Regions from separate parts of the Homo sapiens genome. Here regions 1, 2, 4, 5, 6 and 7 are each linked to region 3. The links are contacts of gene promoters, found by promoter capture Hi-C in blood cells and fetal thymus (Javierre and others, 2016). All regions are on one chromosome and are shown on one strand. The core of a region is centred on a gene start or on the middle of the fragment in contact, and the rest is flanking DNA. Distances in the headings are between cores, read along the strand shown. Region 1 has its middle 54 kb from the start of SPIDR. Region 2 overlaps SPIDR (scaffold protein involved in DNA repair). Region 3 holds the start of PRKDC (protein kinase, DNA-activated, catalytic subunit). Region 4 overlaps SPIDR (scaffold protein involved in DNA repair). Region 5 has its middle 75 kb from the start of SPIDR. Region 6 has its middle 31 kb from the start of SNAI2. Region 7 overlaps SPIDR (scaffold protein involved in DNA repair).

Region 1 (3,358 bases), core at 715-3,214, 750 kb after region 3:
TTACTAAACAGATGCAGGACTTAACAGACTCAGGAAATGTCCTGATGTCCTAGTATCTTAAGAACAAGAGCCCTCTTAGTTCTTAGTTTAAGAATATTTTGCTTTAAAGATAAAAATACAGATTCTTATGGAAGACAGTAGTTACACAAGATGAACACTGTTTTGTCATGAGCCCTTGTAGTGGAGCACATCTCCCCCATGATTTTTTTTGCTTTGCTCTCTTGTACATAAAAAGGCATTGTACCTAAGGTGGGCATGTTCCTCCTCTTGCTTTTGGAAATGCCCTGCTCTGCCTATGGAGTAGCCATTCTTTCATTCCTTTACTTTCTTAATAAACTTGCTTTCACGTTACTCTGTGGACTCTCCCTGAATTCTTTCTTGTGCAAGATCCAAGAACCCTCTCTTGGTATCTGGATCAGGACCCCTTTCTGATGGGTGGATAGATGGTGTCTGCCATGCAGCCATTGCTGAGCCAGGCTCAGGGAGAAGGGGCAGAATCTCACAGTGGACTTCAACCAGACTCAGTCTGGTGGAATATTCACAGCCACACAGGGGGCCCTAGAGGGGGCTCAGTGTGACAGCAGAAGTGAGAGGTGTGTGGGCAAAGGAGCAGTTCATTGAGACTTCAGTGGATCCAGTATAGAGGAAGAGCAACTGGCCACGTGGTTGGGGCAGAGGGCACTTTGAGAGAGGGTGGGATAAGGGGAGAGTTTCCAGAGATGAGGCCTGCGGGGGAAATGCAAGACCTCCCAAGGAATTAGCAAGTGGCTTGGTGTGTCTCATGGGGTGGGATTCTAGTCATCTGGATGGGGACAGCTGCCCTGGAGCAGCCCTGGGAGAGAGCTTAGGAAGGAGGCTCACCTGAGAGCAGCTGTGACTTCTGGAGCTGCACAGTTGATTCTTCCCAAGTGAGACACACAGAGGTTTTATTTTCATTGCCTTTTTCTCAGATTCTTGACTATGTTAACCTGGGGTAAGGGATGTGAGAGAAAGCAAGAACCCCCTTTTTAAGGGGCCTGCAGACCCCAAGCACAGAAATAAAGGAAAATCCTGAGTTCCTCTGAGGGCAATTCCAGGCACTTCGCAATCCCCAACAAGTAAATAAGTGACTTGTTAAGAAGACAACAGTAGGCTAAAACAATAGCTAAAGAGGTTAGAGTCCCAGAGATATTAGCTTTCCCTACAGAAACCAATGATAATCTCTTAGCTTATGTCCCTGAGTTGTCTTTCAGAGGCTTGGATCCCCACTGAGGACCCCACAGAAAGGATCCACTGACATATTCCCCCAGATAAAGGGGAAGTGAAGACTAAACTTTAAACGATTTTTGGTTCTAAGTTTCTTCCCAAGGGGTTTAGAGAAAGTCATTCCTCATAACCAGTTAACATTCTTCTACTGACCCCAAATGTTTAAACAAAGCTTCTCTATTTTAGTCAACTGCAAATCAGAAGATCTTTGAATCTACCTATGACCTGTAAGCCCCTGCTTCAAGATATCCCACCCTTTGGGGCCAAAAACAACATGTAACTTCTGTGTATTGATTTGTGATTTTGCCTGTAGCTTCTGCTTTCCTGAAATGTACTACTAGTTTTAAAAACCCTTATCTGCAAGCCACCGGGGAGTTCAGATTTTAAGCAGGAGCCCGCCAGATTCTCCTTGCTTGGTGCCCTGCAATAAATGCCTTCCTTTCTATTCACTGCAAAACCCTCAGTTTAGATATCTGGTTTTACTGCGCTGGGTGAGTGGACCCCAGTTAGATTCTATAACAAGCCCTGGGTGTTCTCAGGCAGCCAGGGGAGGAGGTAGTTACTGATTCTTCCCCAGTCTCTGGGGAGCATCAATCTTGCAGAAGGTGCTTCTAGGCAGAAGCCTGAGCAACAGCAGAACCTCCTGACTGATTCCCATAGGCTCAGCCTCAGGGCCTCCCAGCCCAGAGACCAGCCCACGGGTCACATTCCTTTCTCTTGCAGTGGGGTATGTGTGCATGTGCATGCATGTGCAAATGTGTGTGTGTGTGCATGTGTGTGCATGTCTTCACAAATTCATTCTGTACTACTCCTGCTTCTCTCCATCACTGTTGCCCATCTGCAGGCCGTGGCCTGTATTGCATGAGGAGGGCAGCTGTGAAATTTAGTTGGGGAGGATCCCTTCCCCTCCCCACCCTCTTAAATCCACTCAGAACTGGTGTTTCAGGGAGAGCCTTGGATTCCACAAGTCCAGTGCTTTAAAAGTGAGCCTCAGAAAGGGAGGGGAACAATTCTGTTCCTCCTGGCTGTGGCAGCTGAAAATACCTGGAAATAGATGTGCTTAGAGTCCTGAGAAGACAGGGTGGGGCCTCAAGCCCCAGACACTAGGGGGTCCTGGATCAGTGTTCCAGGCTGGAGGTGCTGGCCTCACAATGCCCCTACCTGCAACTCAGTGAGGAAAAGGGTTGCACACACACGCCCCCAACCTGCTTCCTCTCCCTTCCCTCAGTCTACAGCCTTGAGAACTAAGAGCTCACCTAAGCTTTCATCAGTCACTGCTGTATGTGTGCTCTTGTCTCTGTGTGTGTGATAGTGTTTGTAGATTTTCCCACCATACTTGGATGCTTGTATTTTTTACAGAAAAAAAAATATAGTCACTATCTGAAATATAAGACAATGAAAAGTACATAAAGTCAGCTCCTTGTCATTCATTCAGTGAATATTTATTGAGCACTAGGCCTTCCCAGATACTGGTACCGGGAGTATTGGTGTGAATACAGCAGCCACAGTGCCTGCCCTTAAGAAGCTGACATTCTAGTGAGGGAGACAGACACAAAACAAGTTAATGTGAAATTACCAAGCATGGCACATGCCTATGAAGAAAAGAATAAGGTTCTGGAAGAGAGAGGACCTCAGGGCATCTCCTAAATCCTTATCCATACCCATATCCTTACAATCAATCATGTTTTCCAATGGCTTATTTTAGTGATTTATACATCTTGGCTCAACATCAGAACCATCCGAGGAACTTTTATTTTCTGTACTATGGAAATCTATACCTCACCTGACCTCCTGAATCAGAATTTTCACCCAAGGAGCTATACATTTATGAAGCTCCACAGATTATCTTGAGACATGCAAGATTGAGGACCATTGGCCCATTTAGGAGGCTGTGCACACATGACTCCTGTTTTCTGTGGTGAAAATAGAGGCGAGCTCAACATTCCTGACCCAGCGTGTCTTTCAGATGGTTCCATAGTACCACCTCCTGAGCCGGTTCAGCTTTGGCCTGTGGGGTTCTTTTTTTTTTTTTTTTTGAGACAGAGTCTCGCTCTGTCACCCAGGCTGGAGTGCAGTGGTGCAATCTCAGCTCACTGCAACCTCCGCCTCCTGG
Region 2 (3,641 bases), core at 473-2,972, 650 kb after region 3:
GTAGAGATGAAGTCTCACTTCGTTTCCCAGGCTGGTCTCAAACTCCTTAGCTCAAGCAATACCCCTCTTTGGCCTCCCCAAGTGTTGGCATTACAGGCATAAGCCACTGCAACTAGGCAGGATTTTTTGTCTATTATTTTCAACAGCTTCACTATAATGTACTTAAGTGTTATTTTATTGTATTTATCTTGTTTGGAATTCACTGAACTTCTTCAACATGTAAATTCATGTTTTTTACCAATTTAGGGAAATTTCCAGCCATAATTTCTCCAGAATTTTTTGACCCAATTTCCCCTGGCCTCTATTTCTAGGACTCCAAGTGTTAGACCTTTTGATATTGTCCTACCAGCCACTGAGGCTAGCTTCATTTTTTGAAATCTCTTTTTCACTTTTTAAGAAAGAATAACTTCTATGAATCCAACAACTTCAATGACTCCTTTTCTTTTCCTAATCTTCTGTAATCTCTAATCAGTTTTCATTTGAAATATTGTATTTTTTACCTATAGAATTTTCATTTAGTCCTTTTACCTAGTTTCCATTTTTCAGCTGAGGTTTCTTATCTGTTTATTCATGGTGTACATATTTTCTTTATATAACCTTAAGAAGAGTTATAACAGCTGCTAATTCTAACATAGGAGTCATATCAAGGCCAGTCTCAATTAATTGGCTTTTCACTTAAGTATGGGTCACATTTTTCTGTTTGTGTATGTGTGTGTCTACTGAATATGGATTGTATTCTGGACACTGTGCATAGTACATTTTTAGAAACTCTGGATTTGATTATGTTCTTCTGAAGACTATTTAGTTTTTTTTTGCTTAATAGGTAGGTAAGTTGGCTATACACCTCTGAACTCTTTCTTGTGCAAATGAAATATCTTTAGTTATTTTAGCCTAAGACTTTTATGCAGAATTTGGGACACCCTTCTTTATGAAAGACTACTTTATACTCACTAACTTTCTAGCTGCTAGAGTCACCCCTAACTCTGTCTTGTGGTTTTTATTCAAGCTTCCGTCACCTACACAACCAATGACCGAGTTCTGTCCTCTGGGAAACATCCACAAAAAATGAAATGCTCATCTTATACCATTCTATCTTCCAAATGTCAACATCCTTCAGTTTCTTCCTACTTTCTGTCCTCCTACTGTGCTTTCACATACTTTTTTTATATTTTGTCCAAAAGTTGTCATTGTTATTTTCAGGAAAGGTAGTCCGACATGTGCCCCTCTGTAATTATTAAAAGCACAACTCCAAAGAATTGTTTATAATACCAGAAGACTACAAAAGTGACATCCATAGTGACTTTTTTTTTTTTTTTTTTTTGAGATGGAGTCTCGTTCTGTCACCCAGGCTGGAGTGCAGCGGCGCGATCTCAGCTCACTGCGACCTCCACCTCCTGGGTTCACACCATTCTTCTGCCTCAGCCTCCCGAGTAGCTGGGACTACAGGCGCCCACCAACACGCCCGGCTAATTTTTTGTATTTTTAGTAGAGACGGGGTTTCACTGTGTTAGCCAGGATGGTCTCAAATCTCCTGACCTCGTGATCTGCCTGCCTCGGCCTCCCAAAGTGCTGGGATTACAGGCGTGAGCCACAGCGCTGGCCGACTTATTACTTTGTTTTTTGAGACAGAGTCTGTCGCCCAGGCTGGAGTGCAGTGGTGCAATCCCGGCTCACAGCAAGCTCTGCCTCCCGGGTTCACGCCATTCTCCTGCCTCAGCCTCCTGAGTAGCTGGGACTACAGGCGCCCGCCACCATGTCCGGCTAATTTTTTTTGGTATTCTTTAGAGACAGGGTTTCACTGTGTTAGCCAGAATGGTCTTGACCTCCTGACCTCGTGATCCGCCCACTTCAGCCTCCCAAAGTGCTGGGATTACAGGCGTGAGCCACTGTGCCTGGCCAACTTACTACTTTTTAACATTACACAGTTGTAACAATATTTCCTAAAGCAATCATTTTCTGTTATAGTCCTTCTTATATCAGAAAACAGAAGTATTTGGGAAATGAAAAGATGGAGAAGAAAGAGGGGAATGAAGGGAAATAAGATGACCCAGTGATACTGAAAGGGGAAGAAGGTTCATGCAAAGAAAAGGAACAATCTGACAAACTCCTTGTCCTGGCATCTTTTAAGCTAAAGTTCAGCTATACAAGAAGGGAGATGATGAAAAGATAAAATATAATTTCTGGCACAGATGCAACAATTGATATTGGTACCTACAGTTACTCACTTTCATAAAGAGAATAAAAGCCCGAAAATGCTATACTAAGATAATGAACAGATACAGTATATAATACATGAGTTATAATATAAAATAACAGTAAAAAAATACAGACTCCTCAATAAAATCTCCAACCTTTTCTTTTTACCATAAGAACACACTGGAATATAGACTTCAGTACAATGTTTCTATAATTAAATCTTTAAAATATAATCATACAAAAAGCTTGACTAAGAACTCCAGATTTCCCTTTACAAGCACTAAATTTTATCAGTTTTTATATAAGCATATATGAGAGGTTTCTAAAATGTATGATGATCAGAATTAAACTCTTTCAACTATAGGTAACTTATACGCAATCAGAGGATTCTGGGAAGATGGTGGAGTAGGAAGCACCACGCATGTGTTGCTCCACCTAGAAGATCATTGCACTGGCAGAATCTGTTCTATTTAACTATTTTGAAACTCTGGAATCTACTGAAGGCTTGTTAATGTCCAGGGGAAGGCCTGAATATAATTTTAATCACTTGCAGGTATTAGCACTAGCACAGTAGCAGCTATCCATTTGCCACCCTCAGCCCCAAGGCAGGCAGTTGTGCATGCATTCCAAGGAGCAGCTTGCGCGCAGCTTACAGGAACCAAGGACAGGCAAAAAGGACCCTCTCTTCCAAATATAGGGCATGTGTGCCCTGATCACTGAATGCTACTTCTGATCACAGAAATGGGACAAAGAGGTGGACACACATTGTTGCTTCATCTCCACTCACTGTTACAAGCCCTCTCCCACCCCCATCCCCACCCCCACCCACAAAGTAACTGCTGGGGATTTAAAGGATTTAGTTTTTCTCTTTTTCCCTTTTGGGAGTCAGATGTTAAAGACTACGGCATTTGAAAGCAACTGTATATAAGGGAAAAATTAGAAACTTCCTGCACATTCCTGGAGAAAAACTCAGGCTTAGAAAAGACTCAGAGAATCTTAAGCTTACACCTCAGGCTGATCCTTCACATACAGACAAGCCTCAAACAATAAAAATAAACAAAAACAGTAACATTAGAAAAAAAAAAAAAAAACAGCAGGCCGGGCATGGTAGCTCATGCCTATAATCTCAGCACTTTGGGAGGCTGAGGTGGGCAGATCACCTGAGGTCAGGAGTTTGAGACGAGCCTGGGCAACATGGCGAAACCCCATCTCTACTAAGAAGCACAAAAATTAGCTGGGCATGGTGGCACACACCTGTAATCCCAGCTACTTGGGAGGCTGAGGCAGGAGAATCGGCTGAACCCAGGAGGTAGAGGTTGCAGTGAGCCGAGATCACACCACTGCACTCCAGCCTGGGCAACAGAGTGAGACTCTGCCTCAAAACAAAACAAAACAAACAGCAAATGCTGGGGAAGAGGGAGAATCTAATTTCCAGACTTACCACA
Region 3 (3,463 bases), core at 377-2,876:
GTTATAAAGCCAGTAAACCTGAGCAGATAAAGCATCAGCTGTGTATCAAGCACAGCAAAACCAAGATCTTCAGACACGCACCTGAAGAATGCATTTGGGGAGGGCTGGAAAACAGCACGTCCTGCGCAGCAGGGCTCTGCAGGTCCACTCCAGGCGAGGTTGGCATCGGCTGCAACTCCCCCGTGGAGGTGGAATCCTCGCCTCTACGTCTCTGAGAGGGAGATGACCTGGCATCCTCACTCCGAGCTTGTGTCACACAAAACAGAAAAGACAGCCATTAACTTTCAGGGCCGGCCTTCCTGGATTTGTCTTTTCCTTGGGGCATTATGACTCACCACTGAACCAAACCAAACAGAGGCAAATGGCAATCGAATTAAGCAGCACCCAGGCCACAGCCTGCTGTGGGTGTCTGTGCGCACCAAGCGGCAGCGCCCAGCCCGAGGCTGAGCGCCCGGGTCCCGCGCACCCACCCAGCGCTGCCAGCTGCGGCGAGAGGGCAGACGGGGCGGCGCCGGGGGCTGTAGTGGGCCCGGCTCGGGGGACTCACGCGTCTGGGCGGGGGTGGCCCTTCCACGCCGGCTGCCGCGGCGGCTCGGGGTCGACGCCGGGGACGACATAGTGCTCGGAGTACCTGCGCGACAAGGACAAGCTCGGGCCGGGCCCGCCTCCCGGCTTCCCTGCCCTGCTCCGCAGCGCGGACGTTCCCGTCGGCTCCGCGCCACGCCCTCCCCGCCGGCGCGCGGTTACCGTGGAAAGGCGGCCGCTTGCCGACGACGCTCGCGGACTCCGAGTCCACCTGGCGAGTAGCGCTCCCAAACCGCGAGACCCAGAGTTCCCGCCGGCGGCAAGGTCGTCTCCGCCCCTGGCGGGGCCTCACCAATCACAGCGGCGCTCGTACGTGGCTCCGCCTCCGGGAGGCGCCACTGCGCATCGGCAGGGGGGGACAGTGCCGCTTCTTTCAGCGCCCGTGCGTAAACCAGAAGTAGGCCTCGCTCGGCCCCCCTTGGTCCAGATGGTCTGACCCCCTGCGCGGCAGCGTTTTCGCGGGAAAACTGGGTCCTACAGCACCAGCTCTCGGGGTGTGTTCCTCTAGCGTTGGCTAGGGAGCGTGTGCTTCTTTATCCCTTAGGCGTTTTTGGTTAATAAGGACATTACAGATGCATTTCTCACTTAAAGATTTTTTTTATTAAAAAAAATTAAGGACGGGAGGTGGTGGGGATGGTCTCATTATGTTGCCCAGACTGGTCTCGAACTCCTGCGATCCCCCCGCCTCAGCTTCCTAAAGTGTTGGGACTGCAGGCGGGCATCACCGCCCCCGACCGCGTTTGTCGTTTTTTATCGAGGAACAAACTTGGAACTCTTGACCTAGGCCCCTCGCTTGTTTTATCTGCCTCTGGTATTTATTTAGCCAAGTCCAACACCAAGTAGCCACCCAAACTACCTCCGCAGGTCAGACGTTTTTCCTTAGGTTTCCATGTTGATTCGGGCCAAAGAGGCGCGCTTACTGGCCAGGCCTTCCCGCAGGGGTCCCCGGGAAAGTTCCTGCCGCCGCGCCCCGCAGCCCCGCCTCCGCGCGTAGGGGCATTTCCGGGTCCGGGCCGAGCGGGCGCACGCGCGGGAGCGGGACTCGGCGGCATGGCGGGCTCCGGAGCCGGTGTGCGTTGCTCCCTGCTGCGGCTGCAGGAGACCTTGTCCGCTGCGGACCGCTGCGGTGCTGCCCTGGCCGGTCATCAACTGATCCGCGGCCTGGGGCAGGAATGCGTCCTGAGCAGCAGCCCCGCGGTGCTGGGTGGGTACCGGCCCGAGCTGGGCCGCGGGTGGGTCCTGGCTTCCCGAGTCGTTCTGGAGCCGGGCAGCCCGGCGCTTCTCTGTGTTTAGATGACGGTATTTTGAAGTACAGCAATTAGATTCTTGGGGGAATTTCTGTGTATGTGTATAAAGGGATTTGTCATACTGCTTTTTACCCCCTAGTATTAGAGGAAAGATATTTTAAAGCCAAAGTTGGTGAAAACGACCCCTAATATGGCAATCATTGCTATGCAGAGTGGGGGGCAGGGCAAGAGAAATAATTTTTTTTTTTTTTGAGACGGAGTCTCGCTCTGTCGCCCAGGCTGGAGTGAAGTGGCGCGATCTCGGCTCACTGCAACCTCCGCCTCCCGGGTTCAAGCTATTCTCCTGCCTCAGCCCCCCGAGTAGCTGGGATTACAGGCGCGCGCCACCACGCCCGGCTAATTTTTTTGTATTTTTAGTAGAGATGGGGTTTCACCATGTTGGTCAGGCTGGTCTCGAACTCCTGACCTCGTGATCCCCCCGCCTCGGCCTCCCAAAGTGCTGGGATTACAGACGTGAGCCACCGGGCCCGGCCAAGAGAAAGTATTTTCTTTCACCTGAATCTCGCCTAATCCCACCAGTACCTTTTCCAAACCCCTCTATTTGCCGTTCCTACTTTGAGAAAAATTGAAGAAATGTAATTGAAGTCATGTTCTTTTAACTCTTTAGCAATGCCTGGGTGGGAACTTTTTCCCCTTTGTAGTAAAAGTGCCTCTTTTTAGCATTTTAAATATTCAAATACTTAATTATGTGGATCTCCTGTATTCCTTCTTTAAAACACGAGTATGCAGACCTTGATGTTGTGCCCTATTAAAAGGTGAGATTTTCTTCCGGAGGGTCTAGTAGTGAATATGGTGTAGGAATAACTTAAACAGTTTAAACTAGATGCTATATGTGGCACGGTGCGGTGGCTCATGCCTGTAATCCCAGCACTTTGGGAGGCTGTGGCAGCTGGATCACCTGAGGTCAGGAGATGGAGACCAACCTGACCAGTATGGTGAAACCTTGTCTCTACTAAAAATACAAAAATTAACTGGGCATGGTGGCGAGCGCCTGTAGTCCCAGCTATTCGGGAGGCTGAGACAGGAGAATGTCTTGAACCCAGGAGAAGGAGATTGCAGTGAGCCGAGATTGTGCCACTGCACTCCAGCCTGGGCAACAGAGCACGACTCCGTCCCAAAAAAAAAAAAAAAAAGATGCTATATACATGTATCCTATATGTACTCTATCTGTTGTCAAGAATATATTAACAATGGGGAAATATCAAACAAAAAACTAACATTGCGTGATTACTTTCTCTTCTCAGGGTTTCAAATTTAGAATTCATTTTTGTTCGTTTAGTAACTTGTTTCTAAAGCACTTCCAAGTTTACCTTCCATTTATGCCATATCTCCTTTCACTTGAGAGATTCCAGGGGAAGTGTATTAGTTCCTTATTGCTGCTGTAACAATTACCACAAGCTTAGTGGTTTAAAACAGCACAGGTCTGTTACTCTTACAGTTCCCACTGTAAGGGGGATTCTGTGAGTCAGAATCCCACACAGGTCTCACCAAGCTAGAACCAAAGTACCAGACAGGGCTGCTTTCTTTCTGAAGGCTCTTGGGGAGGATCCATTGCCTTATTCATTCAGGTT
Region 4 (3,731 bases), core at 436-2,935, 630 kb after region 3:
CATAAAACTAGTAACAAATCTAAGGAAGATTTGGTTGAGATGTACCTGATAAGCACTAAAGCAACCCATGAAATCTCACTCAAAAACATATTGTAGGCTGGGTACAGTGGCTCACACCTGTAATACAACACGTTGCGAGGCCAAGGTGGACAGACCACTTGAGGCTAGGAGTTAGAGACCAGCCTGGCCAACATGGTGAAACCCTGTCTCTACAAAAAAATACAAAAATTGGGTCGGGCGCGGTGGCTCACGCCTGTAATCCCAGCACTTTGGGAGGCTGAGGCGGGCGGATCATGAGGTCAGGAGATCGAGACCATCCTGGCTAACACGGTGAAACCCCATCTCTACTAAAAATACAAAAAAATCAGCCGGGCGTGGTGGCGGGTGCCTGTAGTCCCAGCTACTCGGGAGGCTGAGGCAGGAGAATGGCGTGAACCCAGGAGGCGGAGGTTGCAGTGAGCTGAGATTACACCACTGCACTCCAGCCTGGGCGACAGAGTGAGACTCCATCTCAAAAAAAAAAAAAAATTAGCTAGGCATGGTGGCGCATGCCTGTAATCCCAGCTACTCAGGAGACTGAGGCACGAGAATTGCTTGAACCCAGGAAGTGGAGTTTGCCATGAGCCAACATTCTGCCACTGCACTCTAGCCTGTGCAACAGAGCAAGATGCTGTTTCCAAAAAGAAAAAAAAAATTGTGAAAATGACATTAGAAGAACTAAATATTGCCAAAGAAAATACTGCTTTAAAGTAAAAGAAATGAGGAAAGACTTGAGAAAAAAAACCCTGAAACATTTAGAAAAAGAAAAAGTAAACTGGTGTACATAGATGCAACTATATCAACAATAACATTAAATGTACATAAATTAACCCAGCCAAAGGTAGAGACTGTCATGCAGGATAAAAAAGTGAAGATTCCACTGTATGCTCTGCATAAGAGATACAATACACTAAACAAGGGTGTCACGACCTGCCAGTAAGGAAAGAATAATCTTTTCAACAAATGGTGCTGGGACAACCGGATTTCCATATTCAAAAAAATGAAGTTGGTACCCAACGTGGTGGCTCACGCTTGTTATCACCAACACTTTGGGAGGCTTAGGTGGGAGGATCACTTGAAGCCAGGAGTTTGAGAACAACCTGGATAACATAGCAAGACCCCATCTCTGAAAAAAAAAAAAAAAATAATTAGCCAGTCTTGGTGAAGTCTTAGCTATTTGAGAGGTCGAGGTGAGCGGATCACTTGGGCCCAGAGGTTCAAGGCTGCAGTAAGCTATGATAATGCCACTGCACTCCAGCCTGAGTGACAGAGCAAGACTTTATCTCTTTAAAAAAAAAAATGTAGTTGGACCACCTGCCTCACACCATACACAAAAATTAATTCAAAATACATCAATGGCCTAAATAGAAGAGCAAAAACCTAAGAAAACATAGATAATAGATCTTCATGATCGTGGATTTGGCAATTGTTTCTTAGATATGACACCAAGATTATGAGCAACAGAAGAAATAATAGATAAACTGAACTTTTTTCAAAACTAAAAACTATTGTGCATCCAAGAATATTGTCAAAAAAGTGAAAAAAAAAAACCAAAAAAAAAACACGGCCAGGGGTCGTGGCTCATGCCTGTAATCCCAGCACTTTCGAAGGCCAAGGTGGGTGGATCGCTTCAGCTCAGGGGTTCAAGACAAGCCTGAGCAACATGGCGAAACCCTATCTCTACAAAAATACAAAAATCAGGTCAGGTGTAGTGGCTTATGCCTATAATCCCAGCACTTTGGGAGGCCAAGACAAGTGGATCACCTGAGGTCTGGAGTTTGAGATCAGCCTGGCCAACATGGTGAAACCCCGTGTCTACTAAAAATACAAAAATTAGCCAGGCATGGTGGCACGTGCCTGTAATCCCAGCTACTTGGGAGGCTGAGACAGGAGAATCACTTAAACACAGGAGGTGGAGGTTGTAATGAGCCAAGATTGCGCCACTCCACTCCAACCTGGGCAACAGAACAGGACTCTGCCTCGAGGGGGAAAAAATTAGCCAAGTGTGCTGGTGCGTGCCTGTAGTCCCAGCTACTCGAGAGGCTGAGGTGGGAGAATTACCTGAGCCTGGGGAAGTTGGGGCTGTAGTGCTATAGTGAGCCATGATTGTGCCAGTGCACTCTAGCTGGGCAACAAAATTAAAACCCTGTCTCAAAAAAAAAAAAAAAAAAGTGAAAAAACCACCTACTGAATATGAGAAAACATTTGCCAGTCATATATTTGACAAGGGTCTAGTATCCAGAATATATAGATCATTCTCTTATAACACAACCAGAAAAAGAAATCAACAAAAAACTTGAATAGATATTTTTTCCAAGAAGATATTCAGATCACCAACCACCACATGAAACAGTGCTCATCATCATTAGCTATTAGAGAATTGCAAACCAAAACCTTAATAAGGTATCATTTCACAGCCACTAGGATTTTTTTTTTAAGTGGGTAGAAGAGACCATAATGTAAGTGCTGGCAAGGGATGTGGAGAAACTGAAACCTTTGTGCGTTGCTAACAGGAATGTAAAATGGTTCAGTCATTGCAGAAAACAGGTAGTTTTTCAAAGAGTAACATAAAATTACCATATAGTCCAGCAATTTCACTCCTTCATATATATCCAAGAGAACTGAAAACAGGTACTCCGAAATGTGTAAACCAGGGTTCTAGCAGCTCTATTCACAGTAGCCAAAGGGAGGAAATAAATACACATCAGTGGATGAATGGCTAAACAACGTGTGGCATATACATTCAATGGAACATTATCCAGCTATAAAAAGGAATGAAGTACTGATACATGCTACAATGTGGAGGAACCTCAAAAACATTTTGTTAAGAAGCCAGACACAAAAGGTCACATGCTATATGATTTCCATTTATGTGAAATAACAGAACAGGTAAAACTACAGAGACAGAAAGCAGACTGGTGTTACCAAGGACTGAGATGAGGTGGGGAATACGGAATGGATGCTTAATAGTATAGTGTCTCCTTGCAGAGTGATGAAATGTTTTAGAATGAGATACAGGTATTAGTTGCAAAACTTTGTGAATCCACCAAGTGCCACTGAATTATTCACTTTTGAATGTTAATTTGATGCTATGTGAATTTCACCTCAATAAAGTAAAATTTTTAAAAAGTAAACTGAGAGACCTGGTAACAAACTGGATGTTGCTAAAGATGTGTATGTACGTGGCAAGGCTGAAAGCAAACATTCTTTAAAGAAAAGAGTTGCATTTTCCATTATTACATAAAAGAAATTAGGTGTGGTGGCTCATGCCTGAAATCCCAGCACTTTGGGAGGCTGAGACAGGCAGATGGCTTGAGCTCAAGAATTTCAGACCAGTCTGGGCAACATGGCAAAACCTTGCCTCTCTAGAAAAAAATAAAATAAATAAATAAATACAGAAACGAGCAGGACGTGGTGGCATGCACCACTAGTCTTAGCTACTTCGGAGGCAGAGGTGGGAGGATCACCTGAGACTGGGGAGGTGGAGGCTGCAGTGAGCTGTGAGATCACACCACTGCAGTCCATTGTGAGAAACAAAGCCAGACCCTGTCTTAAAAGAAAAAAAAAGCATGGATGAAGCTTATTTTGGAAAAAGATAGAGATGGTCAAAAGAAAGGACAGTCAAGTTGCCATTATCTTCCTGTCACCTTTAGGTGTGCTGGAAGACTTCTTTCTTCCTCTTAGATCCCCTA
Region 5 (3,643 bases), core at 855-3,354, 770 kb after region 3:
GAGTCAAAGAGGAAACTCATGCACATTAGTGCTCTTTATCTATAAGGCAGCCTGTGAAGTCTGCAGGTTCTGAGACTGTCTGCAAGTGGATCGGTAACATGCCCCAGGATGGACGACTGGGACGCCACAAAGGAAAAGACAGGCTACACAGTGAAAGTACACCTGCCCATGCCCTAGGACGCTGAAAGCGCTATGAGTGTCATTCAGTGTCTTCGGGGCTGAGTGGAAAGAGCACAGACTGCCTTTGCTCTGCTGTCACCACAACAATCAGCACAGAAGGCTTCCGTGACCAAATGTGTGGGGATTTCTCGCTCCCACAAAGCAAGCCATCAGTTTTGTAGTGGACCCCACCTGGGTGTCCTCTAACTCAACTCAGTTCTGACACTATCTACATGAAGATGGGGTCTGATCTTACAGCTTGAGGGCTCTTTCACGAAGACTGTGCCCCACTTCTTATGCCAATCACAAGCCCAGGTTGCTTCATCTGTGCTTCTGACCAAAGACCTATAAACTGAGGATCCCACAACTCCTCCTTGGCTTCAATTAATTTGCTAGAATGCCTTGCGGAACTCAGGAGAACACTTACTTAAATTCACTGGTTTATTATAAAGGATATAACCGACACAGATGAAAAGGTGCATAGGGTGAGGTATGGGAAGAGGTGCACAACCATCCAGTAACCTTCATGTGTTCAGTCCCCGAGAAGCTCTCCCAATCCAGCCCCCTTTGGGTTTTTATGGAGGCCTCATCACACAAGCTTGATGGAGTAAACTACTGACCACTGGTGATTAACCTGCAGCCCCTCTTCCCTCCATGGAGGTTGGGAGACAAGGCTGGAAGTCCCTATCCTCTAACCCTGCCTTGGTCTTTCTGGTGACTGGCCCCTATCCTGAAGCTACCTAGGGACTGCTGGCCATCAGTCATCTCAGTGGCATACAAAAAGGCATCACTTCAGTAATTCTAAACGTTTTATGAGTTGTATGATGGGAAATGGGGTCAAAGACCAAATTCATAATTTATGATATCACAGGGATGGAAAAGAAACAGGAGACCGAGGATTTCTAGCCCACACTAATCCCTGTTATGACAGATATGGAATCCCAATCCACAGGAGGCAGGAAGCTGAGAGGTGAGACAAAACCTATGAAAATCAGAGATGAGGGGCAGGTCTCAGTTTCTTGTGACTGAAGTGATAGAGCCCTGCCAGGCTCTCACTTGGATTGACAAACTAAATAAAAATATATACCCTTAAAACAAAGAACACATCTGAGTATGCATCCGAAAGAATGGAAGTTAGGATCTTGCAGAAATATCGATACACTCTTATTCATTGCAGTATTAATCACAGTTTCAAAGACAGGGAGGCAATGTAAGGTCCACTGATCAATGAATGTTTACAGAAAATGTGGTGTATAGATGCAATGGGATACTATTCAAATTCATAGAGAATTAAATCTTGCCATATGCTACAACATGGATAACACTGGAGCACATTATGCTGAGTGAAATAAGTCAGTCACAGGAGAAAAAATGCTGCCTGGCTCCATTTGTGTGAGGTCTCTATCATAGTCAGCCTAACAGCAGTGGAGTAGAATGCCAGGGGCAGAGGGAGAAGGAAATGGGGAGTCACTGCTCAAGGGCTATGAAGCTTCAGTTATGCAAGATAAGTAAGTTCTAGAGATGTGCTGTGCAACACTGTGCTTACAGTTAACAATGCTGTATAATGTACTTAAAATTTTGTTAAGAGGGTAGATTTCATGTTAAGAGATCTCATGTTAAGTGTACTTATTAAAATGGAAAAAAAAGGCCAGGTGCGGTGGCTCACGCCTGTAATCCCAGCACTTTGAGAGGCCGAGGCGGTGGATCACGAGGCCAAGAGATCGAGATCATCCCGGCCAACATGGTGAAACCCTTTCTCTACTAAAAGTACAAAAAATTAACTGGGCGTGGTGGCAGACACCCAGCTACTTGGGAGGCTGAGGCAGGAGAATCATTTGAACCAGGAGGCGGAGGTTGCAGTAAGCCGAGATTGCGCCACTGCACTCCAGCCTGGCAACAGAGCGAGACTCCGACTCAAAAAAAAAAAAAAGAAAAAAAAAACCCTTAAAAATAACAGGATGGAAAAAACATACCATGAAACCATTTACAGAAAGTTTCTGTGGCTATATTAGTGGTACTAGGAAGTGCAGAAATCCTCAGCCCTTTGTTTGTATTGGGAAAAAGATTTCAGCCAAGAGACAAGTTAACCAAAAAAGAGGGAATTTATTGAAGGAAGATAGGGAGCAGAAACTCTATGTGGCGGGACAGTACTTTGAAAGGTGCAGTTAATGAATGCATACTGCTTTTTCTCGATACTGGGGCAGGTAAAGATGGACCCTTTTCTGCATCTGTGTTGTGAGTAGCTAATCATCCACCCTGTAGTGCCATGAAGGTCAGGGCCATTTGCAAGCACAGAACCTACATTTTCTTTGTACGGTGATTCCACATGCACATATGAGTCACTGCTGGTCACTGAGTGAGGCAGCATCCTTACTCTCAGTGACCTTGCTAGTAAGCTTTCCTGGGGTTTGATAGTCAGTAATAGGTGCATGTGTAGGTATATGGATGTACGTATGTGTATATGTGTGTGTGTATATATATAGAGAGAGAGAGAGAGAGAGAGAGAGACAGAGTCAGAGAGAGCACATGAGTGCTGGGGGAGGGGAAGAGGCTTCACAGAGGTCTTGAAGCATGAGGAGTAGTTTGCCAGGAGATAGGGGATGAAGAACATTCTAGACAGATGGAAAAGGAGGAGCAAAGGCATGGAATGGGGACTAGAGAGCCTGGAGAGGGCAGAAGGGAAATGGCTGGAGGGGTCATGAAAAGCCTGGAATGCCACTCTCCAGAGATTGAGTTCCACCTTGCAGTACAGAGGATGACCTGTGGGTTTTATTTCATAAGTCATCTTCATTTCATTGCTAGTGTGCTAATTTCAGAGCATGTGTTAAGAAGGATTCCGAGGTGGGGCCAGGCACGGTGGCTCATGCCTGTAATCCCAGCACTTTGGGAGGCTGAGGTGGGTGGATGACGAGGTCAGGAGATCGAGACTCATCCTGGCTAACATGGTGAAACCCCATCTCTACTAAAAATACAAAAAAAAAATTTGTTCGGCATGGTGGCGGGCGCCTGTAGTCCCACCTACTCGGGAGGCTGAGGCAGGAGATTGGCGTGAACCCCGGAGGCGGAGCTTGCAGTCAGCTGAGATTGCGCCACTGCACTCCAGCCTGGGAGACAGAGTGAGACTCCATCTCAAAAAAAAAGAAAAAGATTCCGAGGTGGCATCAGGGCAAAAAGTGACAGATCAGTTAGCAATGTCCCCTGTACTGCAGGGGTGGAGCAGTACACTCCACTAGAGTGTACTGGGTGGGCACTAGAGATTTGCCACCCCTGCTGTAGGACAGTGAGAGCCACTGAAGGATGGGAGAGGGTTGGGGTAGAGGAGCAGGGGCTCGGTATGTGTGTTGTAGAGGATCAACCGGAAGCTCTGGGAGCACGAATCATAGGGAGGCAAGGCTAAGGTCATGTTGCCAATGAGCCAGCACTGAGTTAAAAAATATCTGAGGAGCAAATGAACCGCTGAGTGTCTACAAGGCAAAGAGTGGAC
Region 6 (3,528 bases), core at 532-3,031, 990 kb before region 3:
AACAACAGGTGCTGGAGAGGATGTGGAGAAACAGGAACACTTTTACACTGTTGGTGGGACTGTAAACTAGTTCAACCATTGTGGAAGACAGTGTGGCAATTCCTCAGGGATCTAGAACTAGAAATACCATTTGACCCAGCCATCCCATTACTGGGTATATGCCCAAAGGATTATAAATCATGCTGCTATAAAGACACATGCACATGTATGTTTGTTGTGGCACTATTCACAATAGCAAGGACTTGGAACCAACCCAAATGTACAACAATGATAGACTGGATTAAGAAAATGTAGCACATATACACCATGGAATACTATTCAGCCATAAAAAATGATGAGTTTATGTCCTTTGTAGGGCCATGGATGAAGCTGGAAACCATCGTTGTCAGCAAACTATCATGAGGACAAAAAACCAAACACTGCATGTTCTCACTCACAGGTGGGAATTGATCAATGAGAACGCTTGGACACAGGAAGGGGAACATCACACACCGAGGCCTGTTGTGGGGTGGGGGAAGGGGGAGGGTAGCATTGGGAGATATACCTAAAGTAAATGGTGAGTTAATGGATGCAGCACACCAACATGGCACATGTATACATATCTAACAAACCTGCACGTTGTGCACATGTACCCTAGAACTTAAAGTATAATAAATAAATATATATAATACATATATTTTTAAAAAGTAGGAAGTGGATTTCAAAGGAAAAAAAGAAATTTATTGATGTTCTTTGTTATTATTAAAATAAATTGATGTTCATATTTTAAAAGAAAAGAAATTCAATTATTATTCTAGAAAGCAAGATAAATTGCAAATTGATCAGCCATTTAAATGTGAAAAATGAAACCATACAAGTATTAACAGAAAACACCAATGAATTTCTCTGAAACATGGCAGCAGAAAACAATTTCCTATCATTTGAAATCCTGAAGCAATAAGGGAAAATATTTATTAATAGAATTTTTTATTACATAAAAATTTCTGTGATGAACAGGCAAACAAAAAAACACCATAAGCAAAGTAAAACTATATTTGCAACATTTTACAAAGGGTTTCGTTTGTAATATATAAAGCTGCAATTACACAATTAATAATAGATTGAAGATATAAAAAGCCAGCTTACAGGAAAAAAAAATCTACAAATGGCAGTTCACCTTACTAAAAATGCTCTCTGTTTTGCATAAGTGAAATGCAATTTTTTAAGATGTGATATACAATTTTCCAAAATCAGACTGATGACATAACCCAAAATTTAACAACATATACTGTGGAGGAGATCCTGGAGAAATAGACAGTCCAATAAATTCTTAACAGATAAAATTTCATTCCTGATGGGAATGAAGACTACTATTCCCTGCAGAGGAGAATTGTCAGTCACCTGCAGTATTACATATGCATTTACATTCTGACTCATTAAGAGCCTCCATTTTATTTAGCCCTCCCTGTGACCATGCCCTTTGGACATACATTTCTACACTGACTCTGAGATTGGCAGTGGGATTTTTCTCTGGCCAATGAGTCATAGCAAACTAGACCCTAGCAAAGCCTTGGAAAAACAGTTAGGAAGTTTAGCATTCTACTGGAGATCCACACCCCACCATGAGAATGTGTCCCCCATAGGAAAGAGCCTGAGTGACAGACCCCAGGGGGAGAGCTGTCACTGCAGCCAGGACCATTCCAGACCAAGAAGCTTGCCACCAGCAAGCTGTGGCTAAAGCACACGAGACCACCCAGAGAGTATTTTTAGTGTCCTTTAATCCAGAATGGACTTCCTTGCCCAAAGTACCCCATGCAGATTATTTACAAAGTGAAAAAGCTCTTTTTAAAACAGCAAAATGATTAGTAAGGGATCAAGCGATCAAGCTTCATATCATAAGACAAACTGACATGATGTGCCACCAGATTTGACACAATTATTAGAATAATGTTAATCGCCTATGTGGTACTCCTGCCAAAAATGTTAACCTAAATCTTCACATAAATCCAGATTGTGGGACATTTTACAAACAACATTTTTTTTAATACCAAGGCATAGAAGTCACATGCATTGTTACAATATCAGGATGGATTGAGGTATTTTAAAGCAATGATCAGTTACAATTTTGGCACCAAATAAATCTCAAGTGGACAAAATGATTCAGGGAAATAAGATTTCAGCTTCCGAAGCCAGAATTAAAGTTGTGAGAGAGAAAGACATGGTACCCAGAAAGCAGAGAAATATAGCGAATTTAAGAAACATATCTAGAAAATAACAGTGGGTGTGTTTTTGCCACATATACTTGAGGAATCAATTCTCTTGAAAGCCACCAAAGTCTTTTGAGGGTTTTGCTGCCTAAAGAAACAATCAGCCAGGGAGAAAGGAGACTGAGACTGTATTAGAATTAAAAGAACCAAATGTGTATAACATTCCATGGGGAAGTAGTGGCTCAAGAAACTAGTCCCCAAGGAGCAACCATGCCCAGTGACCATTTCAAATGTGACCAAGGAGCATATGAAGAAGGAAGAATATTTCAGGATGTGTTGGAGACCATGGTGATCAAGGCACTCTGGGAAGAAGAATCAGAGCTGGGTCAAGGAATAATTCCACTTCCTGTGTGAGGGATGCTTAAAATATCTGCCCAGTGAATACTTAGAGTCCCAGTGACTTCTGTATGTCCCTCATTATTATTTTTTCAAGTGGAGAGAGTGTTTATTGTCGACTTTTTCTTCCCTTTTCACCATCATATATCAGGTGTATAAAGGGACAGCTCATTGGTCTGTAGACCAAGGCAGACATCCACCTGTGGAGGCCTCAGACACTCTGCAGACAGTCTTGACTTTAAGTATAGGGCCTGCCAGGATTGGAACCCTGGGCTGCTCCCCTTAAGAAGAAGTGAGAACATCTTGCCTTTGGGGAGGACCATGAGCTGAGTATGTGTGACAGAAGCGCACACTTAGAAGGAACTAGTGCTATTTGTTAAACATGCTGACTTTCCGCCCTCAGATGACAAGACTGAATTCCCTGCCCCTCTTCTGTTTAGGTGGGTCCATATGACTAGTTCTAAGGCCAAATGGCTATGGAGAGCCTGGCGTGTGCCACTCCTAGAAGAGAATATTTTATTACAAATGTCAGTCCCTTCCTCTCTGCCATGACAATTGGAATCCCAAGTTTCTATAAAAAGCAGAGAGTCCCCTCCCTACTCTAGACATAGTCTCAACATGTGCATTTAACATAAAGCAAGAAATAAACCTCTATGTTTTAAGCTAGTGATAGTTCATGTTGTTCAAATTTAATATTTGTTTCCTTACTGCAGCATGACTTAGCCTACCCTGAATGACACATAATTCGCCCATAATTCCCAGGCTTCCAGGACCCTGTAGCTGGGTAGCAAGATGGGCATGTGAAGGAATAAGGGTCCCTGCAAACAACAAACTTCACCCCAATGGTCAAATGAAGATCCTTAAAAGCAGGGCTTACTCATACAGACACAGACAGAGGAAAAGAACAAACAAGACAATGAGGTGCACGGAGTTAAGTAGGAGCAGG
Region 7 (3,350 bases), core at 53-2,552, 680 kb after region 3:
ATATTTATAAATTCATTCTATTTTTCCTGAATCTAAAGAGATCTGACTGACCAAAACGTTTCCCATTAACATTCAGTGTAATATCTGCTCATACATGTGACTCCAACTGCCTATGAGGTACTCATTACTACTCATACCCAAATTATCTTGAATTTGTAATAGCATTACTCTGTAAGTTACCACAAACACAAAAATTATCCAGAATATCTCATTGCCAAAAGATTCTGAATATAAAGGCATACCTTGTTTTATTGTGCTTCATAGATAAAGCATTTTTTTACAAATTGAAAATTTCTGGCAATCCTGTGTCAAGCAATTCTGTATGCCATTTTTCCAACAGCATCTGCTCACCTATAAACTTGTGTCTCTGTGTCATATTTTGATAATTATTCCAAGATTTCAAACTTTACCATTATTATTAAATCTGCTATGATGGTCTGTGATCAGTGATCTCTGGTATTACTACTGTAACTGATTTGGGGTGCCACAGTCAAAACCAATATAAGAGAGCAAAATTAATAAATGCTGTGTGTGTTCTGACTGCTCCACCAACCAGCTGTTCCTCCATCTCTTGCCTTCTCCTTAGGCCTCCTATTCTCTGCAACACACCAATATTAAAATTAAGTCAATTTAATAACCTTACAATCGCCTCAAAGTGCTCAAGCAAAGGAAGAGCTGAATGTCTCACACCTTAAATCAAAAGCTGGAAATGGCCGAGCACAGTGGCTCACGCCTGTAATCCCAGAACTCTGGGAGGCCAACGCAAGTAAATCACCTGAGATCAGGAGTTCGAGACCAGCCTGACCCACATGGTGAAACCCCATCTCTACCAAAAATACAAAAATTAGCTGGGCGTGGTGGCGGGCACCTGTAATCCCAGCTACTCGGGAGGCTGAGGCAGGAGAATCACCTGAACCTGGGAGGTGGAGGTTGCAGTGAGCCAATATCGCACCATTGCACTCCACCCCGAGCGACAGAGACAGACTCCCTCTCAAAAAAAAAAAGAAAAAGAAAAAAGAAGCTGGAAATGATTAAGCTTAGGTAGGAAGGCATGACAAAAACTAAGATAGGCTAAAAGCTAGACCTCTTGAGCCAAACCGTTAAGCCAGTTGTGAATACAAAGGGAAGCTCTTGAACGAAATTGAAAGTGCTACTCCAGTGAATACACAAATGATAAGAAAGTAAGACAGCATTATTGCTAATAGAAAGTTTTAGCAATCTGGATAGAAAATTGAATCAGCTATAACATTCCCTTAAGCCAGAGCAGAATCCAGAGCAAGGTCCTAACTCTCTTCAATTCTATGAAGGCTGAGAGAGGTGAAGAAGCTGGAGAAGAAAAGTCTGAAGCTAGCAGAGGTTGGTTCATGAAGTTTAAGAAATCATCTCCATAACATAAAAGTACAAGGTAATGCAGGAAGTGATCCAGAAGATCTAGTTAAGATCACTGATGAAGGTAGCTACGCTAAAAAACAGACTTTCAATATAGATGAAAGAGCCTTATATTAGAAGATGATGCCCTTTAAGACTTTCGTAGCTAGAGAGAAGTCAATGCTTGGCATCAAAGCTTCAAAGAACAGACTGATACTCATATTAGGGGCTAATGCAACTGGTAACATTAAGTTGAAGCCAATGCTCATGTATCATTCTGAAAATCCTAGCGCCCTTATGATAAATCTACTCTGCCTGTGCTCTATAAATGTAACAACAAAGCCTGGATGACAGCACATCTCTTTACAGCATTCTTTACTGTAATACTTTAAGCCCACTGTTGAGATCTGCTCAGAAGAAAAAGATTTCTTTCAAACTATTACTGCTGATTGACAATGCACCTGGTCACCCAAGAGCTATGATGGAGAAGTACAAGGAGATGAATGCTGTTTTCATACCTGCTAACACCACTTCCATTCTGCAGACTATGGATCATGGGGTGATTCTGACTTTCAAATCTTATTATTTCAGAAATACATGTCATATGGCTGTAGCTGCCACAGATAGTGACTCCTCTGATGGATCTGGGCAAAGTAAACTGAAAACTTTCAGAAAAATATTCACCATTCTATGTGCCATTAGGAACATTCATGATTCATGACAGAAGGTCAAAATACAGCATTAACAGGAGTTTGGAAGAAGTTGATTCCAACCCTTGTGCATGACTGAGGGGTTCAAGACTTCAGCAGAAAAACTGATGTGATAGAAACAGCAAGAGAACTAGAATTAGAAGTAGAACCTGAAGATATGACTGAATTGCTGCAATTTCCTACGAGTTGAATGGATGAAGAGTTACTTCTTACCAATGAACAAATAAAGTAGTTTCTGGAGATAAAATCTACTCCTGGTGAAAATGCTGTGAACATTGTTGAAGTGATAACAAGTAATTTAGAATATCCTATAAACTTAGTTGATAAAGCAGTGTCAGGCTTTGGAAGGATTGAGTCCAATTTTGAAAGAAGTTCTATTACTGGTCAAATGTTACCAGCATCACACGCTACTCAGTAATCTTTCATGAAAGGAATAGTAAATAGATGTGGTAAACTTCACTTTTGCCTTATTTTAGGAAACTGCCACAGCCACCCCAATCTTCAACCACCAACCATCTGATCAGTCAGCAGCCATCAGCATCAAGGCAAGACTCTCCCCCAGCAAAAAGATTATACCTTGGTGAAGGCTCCTATGATTGTTAGCATTTTTTTTAGCAACAAAGTATTTTTAAATTAGGGTATATACATTGCTTTTTTAGACATAATACTATTGCACTTAACAGACTACATTATAATATAAACATAACTTTTATAGGCACTGGGAAACCAAAGAATTCATGTGATCACTTTATTGCAATATTCACTTTATTGTGTTGGTCCTGAACCAAACCTGCAATATCTCCAGAGTACGCCTCCAGAGTAAACATGCATTTCTTGTGAAGAGTAGTATGCTCAATGGTTTCATCTTCTGAGAACATTCTTAGTAAATATCCTTCATTTACAAACAAAGAAGTAGAAAGGTTCTGCATGGATTAAAGAGGTTCAGGTGTGAGCTGGGCATGGGGGCTCACACCTATAATCCCGGCACTCTGGGAGGCGGAGGTGGGAGGATCACTTGCAGCCAGGGGTTAGAGACCAGCCTAGGCAACACAGCAAGACCCTGTCTCTACAGAAAGATTTTTAAAAATTAGCCAGGCAGCCGGGCACAGTGGCTCACGCCTGTAATCCCAGCACTTTGGAGGCCAAGGTGGGTGGATTACCTGAGGTCAGGAGTTCCAAACCAGCCTGGCCAACATGGTGAAACCCAGTCTCTACAAAAAATACAAAAATCAGCCGAGTGTGGTGGCACGCACCTGTAATCCAAGCTATTCG

What was found. Contacts are between HindIII fragments. The CHiCAGO score rates a contact against its expected background, and 5 or more counts as called.
Region 1: a fragment that was not itself captured here is called in contact with the fragment with the promoter of PRKDC in region 3 in 4 of 17 cell types (neutrophils, total B cells, M0 macrophages and 1 more); the score reaches 11.5 in neutrophils.
Region 2: a fragment that was not itself captured here is called in contact with the fragment with the promoter of PRKDC in region 3 in 1 of 17 cell types (total CD8 T cells); the score reaches 5.4 in total CD8 T cells.
Region 4: a fragment that was not itself captured here is called in contact with the fragment with the promoter of PRKDC in region 3 in 1 of 17 cell types (neutrophils); the score reaches 7.9 in neutrophils.
Region 5: a contact is called between a fragment that was not itself captured here and the fragment with the promoter of PRKDC in region 3, in 1 of 17 cell types (naive B cells). The highest score is 5.4, in naive B cells.
Region 6: a contact is called between a fragment that was not itself captured here and the fragment with the promoter of PRKDC in region 3, in 1 of 17 cell types (naive CD8 T cells). The highest score is 6.2, in naive CD8 T cells.
Region 7: a contact is called between a fragment that was not itself captured here and the fragment with the promoter of PRKDC in region 3, in 5 of 17 cell types (neutrophils, total CD4 T cells, fetal thymus and 2 more). The highest score is 10.6, in neutrophils.

What each region holds. Positions count from the first base shown.
Region 1 is chr8:47,204,914-47,208,271 of GRCh38, reverse strand. No RefSeq gene overlaps it. Among named protein-coding and RNA genes, the nearest start is that of SPIDR, 54 kb to the left of the region's middle. The HindIII fragment of the contact is 1,089 bases long and covers 1,420-2,508 here.
Region 2 is chr8:47,308,014-47,311,654 of GRCh38, reverse strand. The region is part of intron 5 of SPIDR (scaffold protein involved in DNA repair); the gene reads right to left. Among named protein-coding and RNA genes, the nearest start is that of SPIDR, 49 kb to the right of the region's middle. The HindIII fragment of the contact is 1,435 bases long and covers 1,005-2,439 here.
Region 3 is chr8:47,958,299-47,961,761 of GRCh38, reverse strand. It overlaps PRKDC (protein kinase, DNA-activated, catalytic subunit), which reads left to right and starts at 1,626. Exons shown (of 86, transcript NM_006904.7): 1 at 1,626-1,789. The coding sequence starts at 1,636. It overlaps MCM4 (minichromosome maintenance complex component 4), which reads right to left and starts at 821. Exons shown (of 17, transcript NM_182746.3): 1 at 748-821; 2 at 548-631; 3 at 82-246. The coding sequence starts at 617. RefSeq lists silencers at 388-787, 1,458-1,757, 1,768-1,817 and an enhancer at 1,998-2,157. The HindIII fragment of the contact is 8,899 bases long and covers 1-3,292 here.
Region 4 is chr8:47,325,871-47,329,601 of GRCh38, reverse strand. The region is part of intron 5 of SPIDR (scaffold protein involved in DNA repair); the gene reads right to left. Among named protein-coding and RNA genes, the nearest start is that of SPIDR, 67 kb to the right of the region's middle. The HindIII fragment of the contact is 3,871 bases long and covers 1-3,620 here.
Region 5 is chr8:47,183,625-47,187,267 of GRCh38, reverse strand. No RefSeq gene overlaps it. Among named protein-coding and RNA genes, the nearest start is that of SPIDR, 75 kb to the left of the region's middle. The HindIII fragment of the contact is 907 bases long and covers 1,651-2,557 here.
Region 6 is chr8:48,951,042-48,954,569 of GRCh38, reverse strand. No RefSeq gene overlaps it. Among named protein-coding and RNA genes, the nearest start is that of SNAI2, 31 kb to the right of the region's middle. The HindIII fragment of the contact is 173 bases long and covers 1,695-1,867 here.
Region 7 is chr8:47,280,517-47,283,866 of GRCh38, reverse strand. The region is part of intron 2 of SPIDR (scaffold protein involved in DNA repair); the gene reads right to left. Among named protein-coding and RNA genes, the nearest start is that of SPIDR, 21 kb to the right of the region's middle. The HindIII fragment of the contact is 528 bases long and covers 1,039-1,566 here.